Regions from separate parts of the Homo sapiens genome. Here region 1 is linked to region 2. The links are contacts of gene promoters, found by promoter capture Hi-C in blood cells and fetal thymus (Javierre and others, 2016). All regions are on one chromosome and are shown on one strand. The core of a region is centred on a gene start or on the middle of the fragment in contact, and the rest is flanking DNA. Distances in the headings are between cores, read along the strand shown.

Region 1 (6,639 bases), core at 2,389-4,888, 390 kb after region 2:
GATCGAGACCATCCTGGCTAACACAGTGAAACCCCGTCTCTACTAAAAGTACAAAAAATTAGCTGGGCGTAGTGGTGGGCGCCGATAGTCCCAGCTACTCGGGAGGCTGAGGCAGGAGAATGGTGTGAACCCAGGAGGCGGAGCGTGCAGTGAGCAGAGATTGCGCCACTGCACTCCAGCCTGGGCAACAGAGCCAGACTCTGTCTCAAAAAATAAATAAATAAATAAATAAATAAATAAATAAATAAATAAATAAAAATAAATAAAAAATAGGCCATGGCCAGGCGCGGTGGCTCACGTCTGTAATCCCAGCACTTTGGGAGGCCAAGGTGGGTGGATCATGAGGTCAGATCGAGATCATCCTGGCCAACATGGTAAAACCCTGTTCTCTACTAAAAATACAAAAATTAGCTGGACGTGGTGGCACATGCCTACAGTCCCAGCTACTTGCAAGGCTGAGGCAGGAGGATCACTTGAACCCAGGAGGTGGAGGCTGCGGTGAGCTCAGATCACGCCACTGCACTCCAAGCGTGGGCGACAGAGTGAGACTCAATCTCAATAAAAATAAATAAATAATAAAGAAGTCTCTTCTCAAAAAGAGTAAGGATCACTAGAAAATGTATTCGAGAACCATTCTTTTTCTCCTAAATTCAGTCTAAAATGCAGAGCCAAATAAAACCACCATAAATTCCTTTAGTAATCTTCTAGGCCTTTCAGGTCAGCAAATTTCACATACTACATACAATTCTGTCGCTTTCCTCATAGCCCACTCTTCAAACACAAATTCAGATTTTTATTAATACTGTGAGACTACTAATAAAGCTCTCTTTGGCTAAGAAAAACAAAAATTGAATTCTTAAAACTCCAATAGGGAAACCTTACGAGGAAAGCATGGCTTAAAGGATCCAAGTGTTCATATACAGATATAAGCCAATCCTTTCAAATCATGTCTAAAATTTCTTTCAACAAGATCTATCTCGTACATTCCTCCCAAAACACAGAACTTTATCAGCATCCAGTATTCTACCTACTTGTCTTCAATCAATCCCAACAACCCTTCAAAGCTACCAAAATGTTAATTTATAAAATAAAAGAAAATAATCCATAGTTCTCCCCGCTCAAAGTCACAAATCCTGGGACAACAAAATCTTAAAAAACGTATTGAACTATCCTTCCTCAAACAGCTTTGCCCCCAAAATTTATATTCTAATCTAACGTAATCAGATGTATTACAATGTCAGTACTGTAAAATCAGGAATCTTTGTCACATTGTAATCCACAAAATCCTTTGGTATACAATGGTTTCTATAAAAGCTAAAGGCTACATATAACTCCATTTCCAAACAAGATAAATATATAAAATATAAAACATGTTTGGCCAAAAGCCAAATTCGATATTAATACACCTTTCCCCCTCCTCTGGTGCACAGAAAAGTCACCCGAAAAGTTTTAATCACAGATTCACAGTATATTCACAACTGGAAACAAAATAGTTATCCTACTTTAAAACTGGAGGGTGTGGTGGGGGGAGAAAATACTAACCAATCTCTGGCTGTAACGAATCCTTTCTTCTTCGGGTTCCATCTCTCACTCTTCTGTTGAAATTACTGTAAAGAAACCACTCCAGGGCTGCCTTCCTCTTCCTCCTTAGGAACCAGATTGCAACACTAAAGAATAATGATATAAGCAGAAATGAGAACTCATTCTCAAACTTGTGCTTTCTGTTCACGGAAAGGAGTATTTAAGGTAAGTGTTAAAGGCTCTCTGAAAAATCAGGTTCCTCTTCATGAGTTTGGGACCTTTCTGCTCTTGGGCAAGTGGTTCCATGTCATGTTCAACATTAATCACATTACAACTGTCGGAGGCCTAGACGAAACGAGATGTTGGTTTCAGTTCCTTGTGGAAGGGCCACACCACCAGTTTCTCCCCACAGGATTACAACTAGCAAGGATCTCCTTCATGGCAGCATCAGCAAGAAAAAAAAAAAGCCCAGGACTTTTATCTCCAGAGAGCTGACCAGGTGAAGCACCACTGAACTAATCCAGATCCTAACCAAATTAGTTCTCTCTCACCGGTAATCAGAAACTAAAGGAAAGAAGGGCAAACTGACTATGTAAAAAGAGGACAAAAAATTAGGATTTAAATGACCCCAAAACAATTTCCCATACCCCTCCTGTAAGGCCGTGCACAATCGTCGCCTTCCTTTCTAGACTCCCCGGATCTTATCATTCCCAAATCTACCCTCCACCCCAACACAAGATGTGCACAACTCTGAAACAAATTTCAGAGGTGCAAATCAAGGACCAAAATTCCATCTGATCTTTTTGGATAAAGTAATAAAATAAACGATTGCATCTAAGGATACAAGGAAAATACATCTTGTCCAAAAATTAAATAAAAGACCGGCCGGCGCGACGGTCAATCCGTAATACCAAGAAAGGGTTTTCTTTTTTCTAAATATTCTCGTGGATAATGGCTTCCATTGAGAACACAGGTTCCCCCCGTTTTTGTCACTACATTACAGCCACGTTAACAGCATCCTTTCAAAACTGCTACGAGACCAGAGGACCCGATGACACAGTTTGCAGAGCAGTTAGAGGCAGAGCCCTCCCGGAGGAAGCCCTGGCCCGAAGTCGGGAGGGAAACCGTGCTTGCACCCCCTGGGCGACGACCGCCTGGGCATGGAGCAGCCAGGGCCGGAGAGGAAAAAGGGCGAATCTCGCTGGGCTCCCCCAGGAAAAGGCGTTTCAATGGTTCACCCATCGGAAAAAGAGATAGAAACTTTGCATTCAGTCTTTGGATAACACAGTCAACCAAACTTCCAAATGAGGGGGGGGAGGGGGAAACTCACCGGAGATTCTGCTCTTGAGTTCTTGTCCAAGTGAGAAGTAAAAGATTCCAAAGCTGAGAGGAATAATTAAATCCCAAACGTCGTCTTCGGTTTTTCCGTGGATCAACCCAGTATCCAGAGAGGGTCAGAGCGACCAGGAAAAGGGAGCAAACAGTTGCTGAATCAAACCTTCTCTTCTGGCTTTGGAGACCGGGAGTCGGAGGCGTCAGGAGAGAGGAGCGCGACCCCTCGGCGCCGAGCCCGGGGCGCCCCCGCCTCCCCCAGGCCAGCGGTCAGCAGCCCGGGCCCGAGCCCCGGGCCGGCCCCGGCCGCAGGGAGCGCCCTCCTCGCCGTGCCCTCGGCCAGCAGGGGCTGGTCGCCTGCGGGAGCAGCGGCCGATCAGCTGAGACCGGCCGGCCCGAGGCTCCCCGCGCCGCCCCGGCCCCCCGGAACGCGGGCCCCGGCCCCGGGGGGCGGACAGGGCGGGAGCGGCGCGGCGCGCCGGGATGGGGGCCCTGGCTCCCCTCGCGTCTCCCCCTCAGGTCTGGCTCCGCGCTGCGGGACGAGCCCCCCGGCTACTCCCCAGTCGCAGAAGAGGGATTCCGGGGGATGGGCCCCCTGGCGTTGCCCCTCCTCCCGGAGCGTCCCCTGCCCAGGAAAGACAGAGCGGCCACGGGCCCAGCCGCTGGGAAGGTGCTCCGAGAGCCGCCGCCGCCGCCGCCGCTGCCGGGGAGGGGTGTTGTTTCCCTCACACAGGAGGAGCCGCTGAAGCAGCCGCCGCCATTTTGAACCCGTCAGACTCTCACATACACACAGCTCCTCCGAGGCGCACTGCGCAGGCGCCACCTCCCCACCCCTCCTCCAGCTCGCCTCTCCACCCCCCCACCCCCTTCAGGCCTCCCTGCGCTTCTTACCGCTCTCCCGGGCGCGCGTGAACGCGCACGCGTCACTCCCCTCTAACGCGGACACACCGCCGGCGCGCGCACGCGCGGATGCGTCGGCCTCGAATCGCCCGCGCCCCGCGACGCCGACGCGGCTCCCTGCGCCCCCTCGCGTCAGGCCGCCCGCCCTCCCTCCCTCCCGCCAGCCCGCCGCCCCCGCTCCCCGTCGGCGTTCTTCCAGGGCTCGGGCCTGGCTGGCTGCTCGCGCCTGCGCGCAGGGCACCGATCCTCCTCCGCGCGCCCTCCCCCCACACACCCTCACACACACTTCGCCTCTGCGACCCCGCCCCTCGCGGCCAGCTGTGCTGGCCGCCCTCCCCCACCCCCCTGGGAGGGTGGTGACCCCCGACCCCCCACAAAGCACATCACCCCCCCCAAGCAGTGGGAGATCTGCGTCCCCTTCCCCTTCAACCGCCTTTGGCCCCAGGCTGCCCGTCACAGTCACACAACCTGAGGGCCGGGAGGCCTGGGCCAGGGCAACCGATACCCGCCTCAAAGCAGGGTCTCCCGGGGTCAAGCCGCCGGGCTGGGCCCGCGGGACCTGGGCTCCCGGCTCAGGCCTGCCCAGGGCGAGAGGGCGCAGGGAAGGGGCGCATGGCCGCCGGCTGCCCTCCCTTCGCGTGCCGGCCGGTGGGCCGAGGCCGGCTTGCCCGCCATTCCCGGGCAGGCCCCGGCGCCGCCGCCACGGGGCCCGTCTGCCCTGGGCCCGGGGGCTCCTCGGTGCAGCGGCCTGGCCCCGCCTCACCCACTGCTCGTCGCTCCGAAGGGGCAGGAAACAGGAGTAGCATGTCTGTCCTGGGCTCGGCTCCCCGGGGGTGCTGCAGGCGCTTAACAAGGGCGTCCACAGGTACCAGGCGCAGAAGCGGTCTCCGCGACGGCCCGGGGGCGGTGGCGGCCGGCGCGCCCACCGCCGGCCGGAGGCGCCCGGCGAGGTGGCCCAGGAAGCCCCCGCTCCTCGGCCACGCTCAGCTTTCCGCCGCGCCGGTGCCCCCGGCGGCCCGGGTGGGACGTGACCCCGCCCCCGGCGAGTCGGGGCGCCCCCCACGGAGGGGTGCGCGGGCCGCCCCCGGCCCCCGGCCCGACCCTGCCGCCCTGGGCCGTGGCGGGCGCGGGAGGCCCGGCCGGGAAGATGTCTCCTGTTGGTGCGCGCAGCTTCGCGCGGGGGTCAGCGACGGGGCAGCAGCCGCCCGAGCTGCGCCGGCCCTGCCCACGGACCGACTCCCGCGGCCCGACAGCTGCCCGACGGGCCAGCAGGCTCCGAACGTCGACGGAGCCCGGCCGGAGGTACCCGAGCAGTGCCATGCGAGCAGCCCAGCCGCGATCCGGGCATTTCCCCAGCCAATCTCTTGCTCTGGGGCCCGTTTAAATTCTAAATCCCACAAAGGACGGTGGCTGGGGCGTTACACATCGGGGTTGGCACTATTGGCTCCACTACGCCCTTGCTGAGCGGTGTCACACAAATCTTTTTCTCCCTGCCTTGGTTTCCCACTCTTTAAGCTCTGACTCCTGGAAGCAGGGAATGGAGCAGAGAGGTAGGGCATGGAGTGAATCATATAACCTGCATAAACAGCCATCAACTCTTTCAGGAGGACGTTAGCGAGACAATTAAAATAATGATACCTTCTAATTCTATCAAGGCTTGAACTCCAAGGTAAAAGCGCTACGTAAATGCAAGGTATTATTATTTATTACCACAGAAGGTTTTTCTGCATGCACAACTTGGGGAGTTTGTACAGACATTCTCTGCTTTGTTTCACAACATCCTTAGGAGACAAGCTAAAGTGCCTGTTAGCGCTATATTCATTTTAAAGATAGACAACTGAAGTATAGAAAGGTTAAAGAGCTTGCATAATTACTCCAACAGCCGACTGAAACATCTCACAAACAGCAAAAAAGGTTTGTTAATAAGATATCATCTTCTTGCGTTCTAGTCACTGGGAAATATTCTTTATTTTGATACCAGTTTTGTTCAGACTTCTTAGATTTTCAGAGCACTGATACGAAGAAGATAATCACAGAAACTGTATCAGATCTAAAGCCTCTTTAAATCTTTCCGACTATGGTAAAGTATATTTTAAAAGCAGCAGTCTCTCACACTGGTGCTACCAGATATGGCCCCATAAGCATCTGGCTCTCTGTAGTTATAGAAAAAGTCAGCAGCTCGTTTTGTTTGTTTTTTAAGCAGGAGAGAAAGCTTTTGCCATTGTCAGATTAAGTGTTGGGCCTTGTTGCTATTTGCAAAATAAACAGCTTTATTTCCTTCCCACTCACCCTTATAACCCAGGGAATACTTGGCGGCAAAGAGAAAGTCTCTAGGAGTAGCTCAACTTGGTCTTGCCCTTTTTCTTAACATTCAGACCCCCTTAAGTAATTAACCCTCAAGGAGGTGAGTTGCACACCCTTGGCAATCAGATACCTCCAAGTTTAATTCAGATGGGCATGCTGGGAGAACCCTAGAAAGGCTTTAGAACAGGCCGGGCGCGGTGGCTCACGCCTGTAATCCCAGCACTTTGGGAGGCCAAGGCAGGTGGATCACCTGAGGTCAGGCGTTCAAGACCAGCCTGGCCAACATGGCAAAACCCTGTCTCTACTAAAAAAAAAATACAAAATTAGCCGGGCGTGGTGGTGCATGCCTATAATCCCAGTTACATGGGAGGCTGAGGCAGGAGAATCACTTGAATGCAAGAGGTGGAGGTTGCAGTGAGCCGAGATGGCGCCATTGCACTCCAGCTTGGGCTACAGAGTGAGACTCCATCTCCCCGCCCCCCCCCCAAAAAAAGGCTCTAGAACAATAATAGTAGTACTTATTTTGAATGGGACTGCCAGTAGAGCAAGATTTGTCAGATTGCAGCCAGCTCTTTTGCCGTA
Region 2 (6,178 bases), core at 756-3,255:
GAGGTAAGTGAGGCCAGGCCGCCCTGCTCAGGAAACCGACACTGGACTATCCTTCATGAGGGAAGGAAGGACATCTGGAGGCCACCTGAGCCAAGCCTAGAGGATGTCCAGTATTACTACCAGAGAGGTGTTTTGAATCGAATTGAAATTGAGTCCATTTCCAGGGAAGAGCATGGGAATTTGTATTTCAACAGGGCAACCTTGAGGATTAACCAAACCTCTAATTTCATCTAGCCGTCATTAGATTTGAATTTCTTTTGCCGAAAGTGGAAAGGGAGTGGGGAGGCAGGGGTCCTCCTCTGGAGGGCAGTGGGTGGGGCTGTGGAGGGTTGCTGAGACCCCACCCCACCCCCAGGTATCATCCATGCCCGGGCCCTAGTCAGAGAGTGCCTGGCAGAGACAGAGCGGAACGCCCGCACGTAACAGGAAGCGCCTCGGCCTCAGCGTCTGGACCTATCCGGCCACTGCAGAGCACCCGCTTCTCCCTGGCCTTCATCCCGAGTTGCACTAACCATCCTGGGCTTCCTGTCCTGTGTCCCTTGGTGGGTCCCCTCCAGGAACCAAGGAGTGGCCCTCCAGGTGGCAGCACTAAGGACACCCCCCCACAACAAGAGTTAGCAGCGAGGTCCCCATGAGTCCCACCCATGACCTGCCGACAGTGTTGCCCACCGGAACTTTTGTGGCCCCTACCGCTCAGCCCTTCCCAGCACTTCTCCCACTTTGTCCCGAGCCTCCTTCTCCCCCAGCAGGGGCACAGGCCTGGCACCTCCCTGCCTTGTGTCCTGAGCCATAGTGACTCTTTTATCTGTGTGTCTTTTGCTAAATATGCCCTTTTTATATTAATAAAAGATGATTTGGAGTTGTGCTCTCAGCTCTGAGCCTTTCTGGGTCTGGTTCTTCAGCTAAGCCTGGGTGGGCCAGGCAGAGACAGGGGAAGAGGAGACTATGGATGGGGAGGGTGTGATTAAATGAGGTTTGACTTGCCTCTGTAGGCCATCAGCCTTTGGTGGGACCTGGGCCCTCTCCGCCCCAGCCGTGGCGCTGAGAGCCCTGGGCCTTCCTGTGGTGCCACCAGGGGGCAGCACAGGGCCTGGCTGCTTCCACAGCCCTTGGCGCTGTGGGCAGCCTGGGCCTGGAGGGCGCTTCCTCTGGATTGGCGGTGATGCCTGGCAGCATGGAAATGCCAGTTCACGTAAGCCACTCCCTCACACGCCCTAATGCCCTGACAACACCCCAGCCTCTGAATCAGCCCTGAAGGTCTCTGACTTCTCAGAGAGAAAGGGCACTGCTGCTTCCAGCACTTGGCCTCAGTGTCAAGGGGAGGGGCTGGCGGGGTGCTGCCGTCACTGCCCCAGCACCTTGTAGCAGGCTGGGTGGGATCCCATGAACCCAGCCTTGGGGTGCCTCGTGAGGCCTTTGCCCAGACTCCGGGTGGCTGGGTGACCGGACTTGTGGACCCGGAAGGCAGAGGTGGGGGAGGCTTTGTGGCACCATGCAGGGGCTAGCCCAGCCACTCACAGTGACAGCCCGTTTCTGCCTGGGCGTGTAGCTGGGTGACCATAGAGGCCTGGGGCCCTGGAGCCGAGCCCAGCCCTAGGTGGAGGCATGTCAGAGCCACCAGCTTCTGGCTAGACTGGTGGGGAGGCATTTCCTCAACCCTGGGTCCCAAATCTAAGGACTGCAGAGAGTGAGAAGAGGAGAGTGGGCCTGGGACCCCCCATATCAAACCACCCTGTGACTGCACACAGGAGGGCTGGGCTAGGGTGGAGATAGGAACTAAGAGTCTTTGGGGACCCCAATCAGCACAGAGGGACTAGGAAGAGCCAGAATTTAGGCAATGGCCTTTTTCCCACTGCCCGGGGGAAGGAAGGCAGGGGCCTCCCTCCCTGCCTCCTCCGCTGCAGGCGGGGCTGCCCGGACCCCGCCGGGGTGGGGAGGGCCAGCCGGGCCCAGGAAGGGGGCGGGGCGGCCGCAGTGACGCGGCGGGCGTCGGGGAGGGACTGCAGGGGCGCCGGCGGGCGGATCGAGAGGAAGGTCGGGGCCATGGGCCGGCACTGCGCCTCGGGAGGGTCCGGCCACCGCTGGAACCCGAGGCCGGGGCTGGGGGCGCTCCGGGCTCCGACCCACGGGCCGGCCGGCCCTGCCCGGGCTGGGTGAGGGGCGCCCGCCTCAAGCTAGAGGTGAGCCGGGGCGTCGGCAGGCGGGCCAAGAGCGCGGCAGGGGACCGGGACGCCGGCGAGCAGAGGGAAGTGGGGACAACGGGGCCTCTCGCTTGCTCGCGGGGTGCGAGTGGGGGATGGAGGGGTGCCTGCAGCGGAACCTCGGTGCCAGTCTGGGGCGCAGGTGGACGGAGCGGGTCTCCAGGGCCATGGCCCGTGGGATACCAAGTGGAGCCACTCTGGCCTCAGCCTGAGGAGGGCTCACCCCCTGGGAAGAGGACGGAGTGGCTGCCTAGGCGCGTGGAGAGCCGGCGAGGGCCAGGGGTCCAGGAAGGATGCTGGGAGGGGGAGGTCGAGGACCCGGCTGCCCAAGAAGGCAGATCTGGAGGGCGGAGGAGATTACCGGTCCCGGAAGGTAGGTTCGGGTGCAGGGCGTGGGGAACCCTGGCAGAGATGCTGGGCGCACTGGGCCACTCCGCGCAGAGACACTCGGGGAACAAAGCTCTAGGTGGACGTCCGAGAGTGGGGGACTTGGGACCCCGCCGACTCCGGGAAGGGGATGCAAGGGGCGGGTCCCCGAGGGGCCGGTCGCGGAAGGCGGGCCCGGAAGGAGGGGCCCCGGGGCTTCGGGGGCGCGCCCAGAGGGATGCCGTTTCCCGGGGTTAGGACGCGGTCGCAGCGGGAGAGGTGAGGTGGCCCTCCCGCCCGCCGGCCGGAGCCTGGCGCTCCGGGGGGCCCGCGTCAGCGCGCGGTTGCCATGGCGACGGGCGGGCGGGGGGCGGGGGCTGCGCGGAAAAGAGGTCAGCGCTCAGCCTCGCTGCGGCTCCCGGCCCCGGCGGCGCGGGCGGCGGTGCTAGGCTCGCCTCTGCCTCCCTCGTGGCGGGCCCGGACATGGGGTCCCGTGGCCTGAGTCCCTCGGCCGGCGCGCAGGGCTCGGGGCCGCGCGCAGCCTCCCCGCACTGACTGTCGCGCCGTGCCCTGCGCCAGGAGGAGCGGAGGCCGCGCGCGGCCCGCCGAGCGCCTTCAGGATGCTCATCAAGGAATACCACATTCTGCTGCCCATGAGCCTGGACGAGTACCAGGTGGCCCAGCTCTACATGATCCAGGTGAGGGCGGCGGGGAGAGGGCACCCGGGCAAGGGGTGGAGCCCTGCCGACCCCGCCAGCCCTGCCCCGGGGCTGGGACCGGCTGGGAGCCCGGAGGAGGCAAGAGAGGCCCCCCTTCAGATGTGGGAATGGGGAAGGACTGTGGGAAGAGGGGCAGGAGGGCCGAGTGGTGCTTCCCATCCGCTAAGTGCCCAGCCCTCCTCTGATCTCCTGTAATCCTCCTCAGGATCTGTAATCCCATCGGGGAAGGAAAAAGCGCCCAGGAGGCGGCAAGAATGAGGAGGGGGGCCTCCGCGGCAGAGGAAGGCGGGAGGGGGTCTGGAGAAGTGGAGGGTCCTGGCCATCCCTGGAGGTCAGGGAGATGTGGTGAGGACCAGGTGTCAAACCTGGAGCAGGGACAGGGCAGCAAGGATGGGAGGGCGAGGAGGCTCTGGTGTAGGGCAGTGAGAAGAGTGGGCCAGGGCAGGCCCTCAGCAGTGGCCGGGTTGGTGCGGGGCCTGGGGGAGTCTGCTCCAGATCTGTCCCCAGCACAGCAGGACCAGAATCTCATAAAGCAAGAGGGCCCGGACCCCGCCTCGGGCTTGAAAGGGCCATCTGAGCCCCGGAGCAATAGAAGGCAGGATCTGGGGGCTCTCAAGCTCTGAGGGGTGTGGCGGAGCTGGGATTGGGAGGCGGCCAGGGCCTCCCAGAGAGGGAGGGGGCCAGGGTCAGGGCCTCTGAGAGCTGGAGGCCCCTTTTCCTCTCCTAGTCCCTTCTTCCTTGCCAGCCACCCCGGCCTCCTTGCCACCTGCCAGCACATCCAGTATGCTCCCACCTTGGGGCTGCACTGGCTTCCCCCGGCCTTGAGCACCTCCTCCTACCTCACCTCCTTAAAGTCATGTTCAAGCCATGGTCACATTGTGTTATTAGCAAGGCCTTCCCTGACTATCAGATCAAAACTGCAGCCCCCAACCCTCATCACCTATACCCTACTCTAGGCTTTCTTTTCCTATAGCACCTAGCGCCTTCTAACACACCACATAATTTGCTTTTTCCTTTTGTCTGTCTCCTTCCACTAGAATGTAAGTTCCACGAGGGCAGGGATCTTTGTTCTATTCATCAATATATCTCAATTGATATAATCCCAAACACTGCCTGGAGTGGAGCAGACACTCAATGAATACTTGAATGACTCAACTGAGTGCTGGGTTGCAGACCCCATGCGGGGCTGGGCTGCATCTGTGATTCTGATCCCAGGGAGCTTTGGTGGGGCGGGGTCTGGTTTCAGGGAGTTGAAAAGGCTGGGACCAGGGCCCCAGAGCTGTGTAGAACACCAGGCTGAGCTGGGGATCCCAGATGCTAAGCTGGGGCTGAGCTCCCTGTCCTGCTCTCCCTTGGGCCACAGAAAAAGAGCCGGGAGGAGTCTAGTGGTGAGGGCAGCGGCGTGGAGATCCTGGCCAACCGGCCCTACACGGATGGGCCCGGGGGCAGCGGGCAATACACACACAAGGTGTACCACGTGGGCTCCCACATCCCAGGCTGGTTCCGGGCACTGCTGCCCAAGGCTGCCCTGCAGGTAGAAGAGGAATCCTGGAATGCCTACCCCTACACCCGAACCCGGTGAGTGGGTGAGCTGGGCATGGTCCGAGGCCAGGAGGGGAGCGGCCCTGGTGGGTACAGCAGTGAGCCTCACCCGTGCCTTCTGCCCAGGTACACCTGCCCTTTCGTGGAGAAATTCTCCATTGAAATTGAGACCTATTACCTGCCTGATGGGGGGCAGCAGCCAAACGTCTTCAACCTGAGCGGGGCCGAGAGGAGACAGCGCATCCTGGGTGAGGCCTGGAGCTATGGGGGGACCCTGGCGCCCCTCTCAGGCTCCTGGCTGCCTCAGTGGGCAGCCTCTGAGAAGTCCCAGCCCTCTCCAGGCCTCATGTCCTGTCTGCAAAAGGACGGGAACTGTCATCCAGTCCCAAGAGGGTGCCAGGAGCGGGGGCTCAAAGGGGCTGGCGCTGCTCAATGCTTGCCGAACTCCCTCAGACACCATCGACATCGTGCGGGATGCAGTGGCCCCAGGCGAGTACAAAGCAGAAGAGGACCCCCGGCTTTATCACTCGGTCAAGACGGGCCGAGGGCCACTGTCTGATGACTGGGCACGGACGGCGGCACAGACGGGGCCCCTTATGTGTGCCTATAAGCTGTGCAAGGTTGAGTTCCGCTACTGGGGCATGCAAGCCAAGATCGAGCAGTTCATCCATGATGTAGGTGAGCACCCAGCTGCGGGAGGTCCCACTTACCCAGCATGCCCCAGACCCCATGTTTAGGGCCAGGGATGCTCCCATCCACTGGGGACACAGAAGCAGAAAGCCATCGTTTCCATTTGAGGTGGGGAGCACTAGGGCAGAAGCGGCCGCACAGCCTAGCCAGGCATCCACAGAGCAGGAAGCTGGTAACATGATCTACAAGGTCCATACTGGCTCTGACATTCAGAAATGCTGCTGCTTCCATTAAGATTCTAAGATTCTCCATCATCCTATGAGTTAGATGAGACTTAGAGACACTCAGGAAGGTCACCGGCTCTAACTGGCAGCATGCTAAGGAGTGCAGGCTGAGGCTGTGACTCTGATGTCATTCTCTCTGGGATTCCCCACCTCCACTCCCAGTTTCTAGTGTTCCAGCCTTTGGCCCTGGTGTTCAGGAGCCCCAGTCCCACACCTCCCCTCAACCTGACCCCACCACGCCTACAATTCAGCCCTGCCTCAGTGCCCAGGTCATCTGCACACAGAGGGATGGTCCCTAGTTGGAGAGACCAGCGGCCTGGCTTCTGTCCCACTACTGACCCCCACCCCATGGTACCTCCAGCAAGGCACTGGCCATCTCTGCACTTTAAATTTCTCTTCAGTAAATGAGGAAGAGGTTGAGTCAGATATGAAGAGC

Evidence for each region. Contacts are between HindIII fragments. The CHiCAGO score rates a contact against its expected background, and 5 or more counts as called.
Region 1: a contact is called between the fragment with the promoter of KDM2A here and the fragment with the promoter of PITPNM1 in region 2, in 2 of 17 cell types (neutrophils and activated CD4 T cells). The highest score is 5.8, in neutrophils.

The regions. Positions count from the first base shown.
Region 1 is chr11:67,116,262-67,122,900 of GRCh38, reverse strand. It overlaps KDM2A (lysine demethylase 2A), which reads right to left and starts at 3,638. Exons shown (of 21, transcript NM_012308.3): 1 at 2,852-3,638; 2 at 1,543-1,667. The coding sequence starts at 1,584. LOC107984341 (a long non-coding RNA gene) reads left to right here and starts at 4,553. Exons shown (of 2, transcript NR_160735.1): 1 at 4,553-5,667. RefSeq lists silencers at 2,497-2,586, 3,112-3,251, 3,432-3,501, 3,642-4,081, 4,262-4,541 and 2 more and an enhancer at 4,152-4,201. The HindIII fragment of the contact is 9,806 bases long and covers 1-5,967 here.
Region 2 is chr11:67,501,190-67,507,367 of GRCh38, reverse strand. PITPNM1 (phosphatidylinositol transfer protein membrane associated 1) reads left to right here and starts at 2,005. Exons shown (of 24, transcript NM_004910.3): 1 at 2,005-2,180; 2 at 3,147-3,265; 3 at 4,650-4,864; 4 at 4,955-5,076; 5 at 5,282-5,506. The coding sequence starts at 3,188. It overlaps CDK2AP2 (cyclin dependent kinase 2 associated protein 2), which reads left to right. Exons shown (of 4, transcript NM_005851.5): 3 at 1-3; 4 at 356-871. The coding sequence ends at 423. RefSeq lists silencers at 1,709-2,338, 2,549-2,708, 2,719-2,838, 2,919-3,018 and enhancers at 2,797-3,546, 3,547-4,296. The HindIII fragment of the contact is 23,305 bases long and covers 1-6,178 here.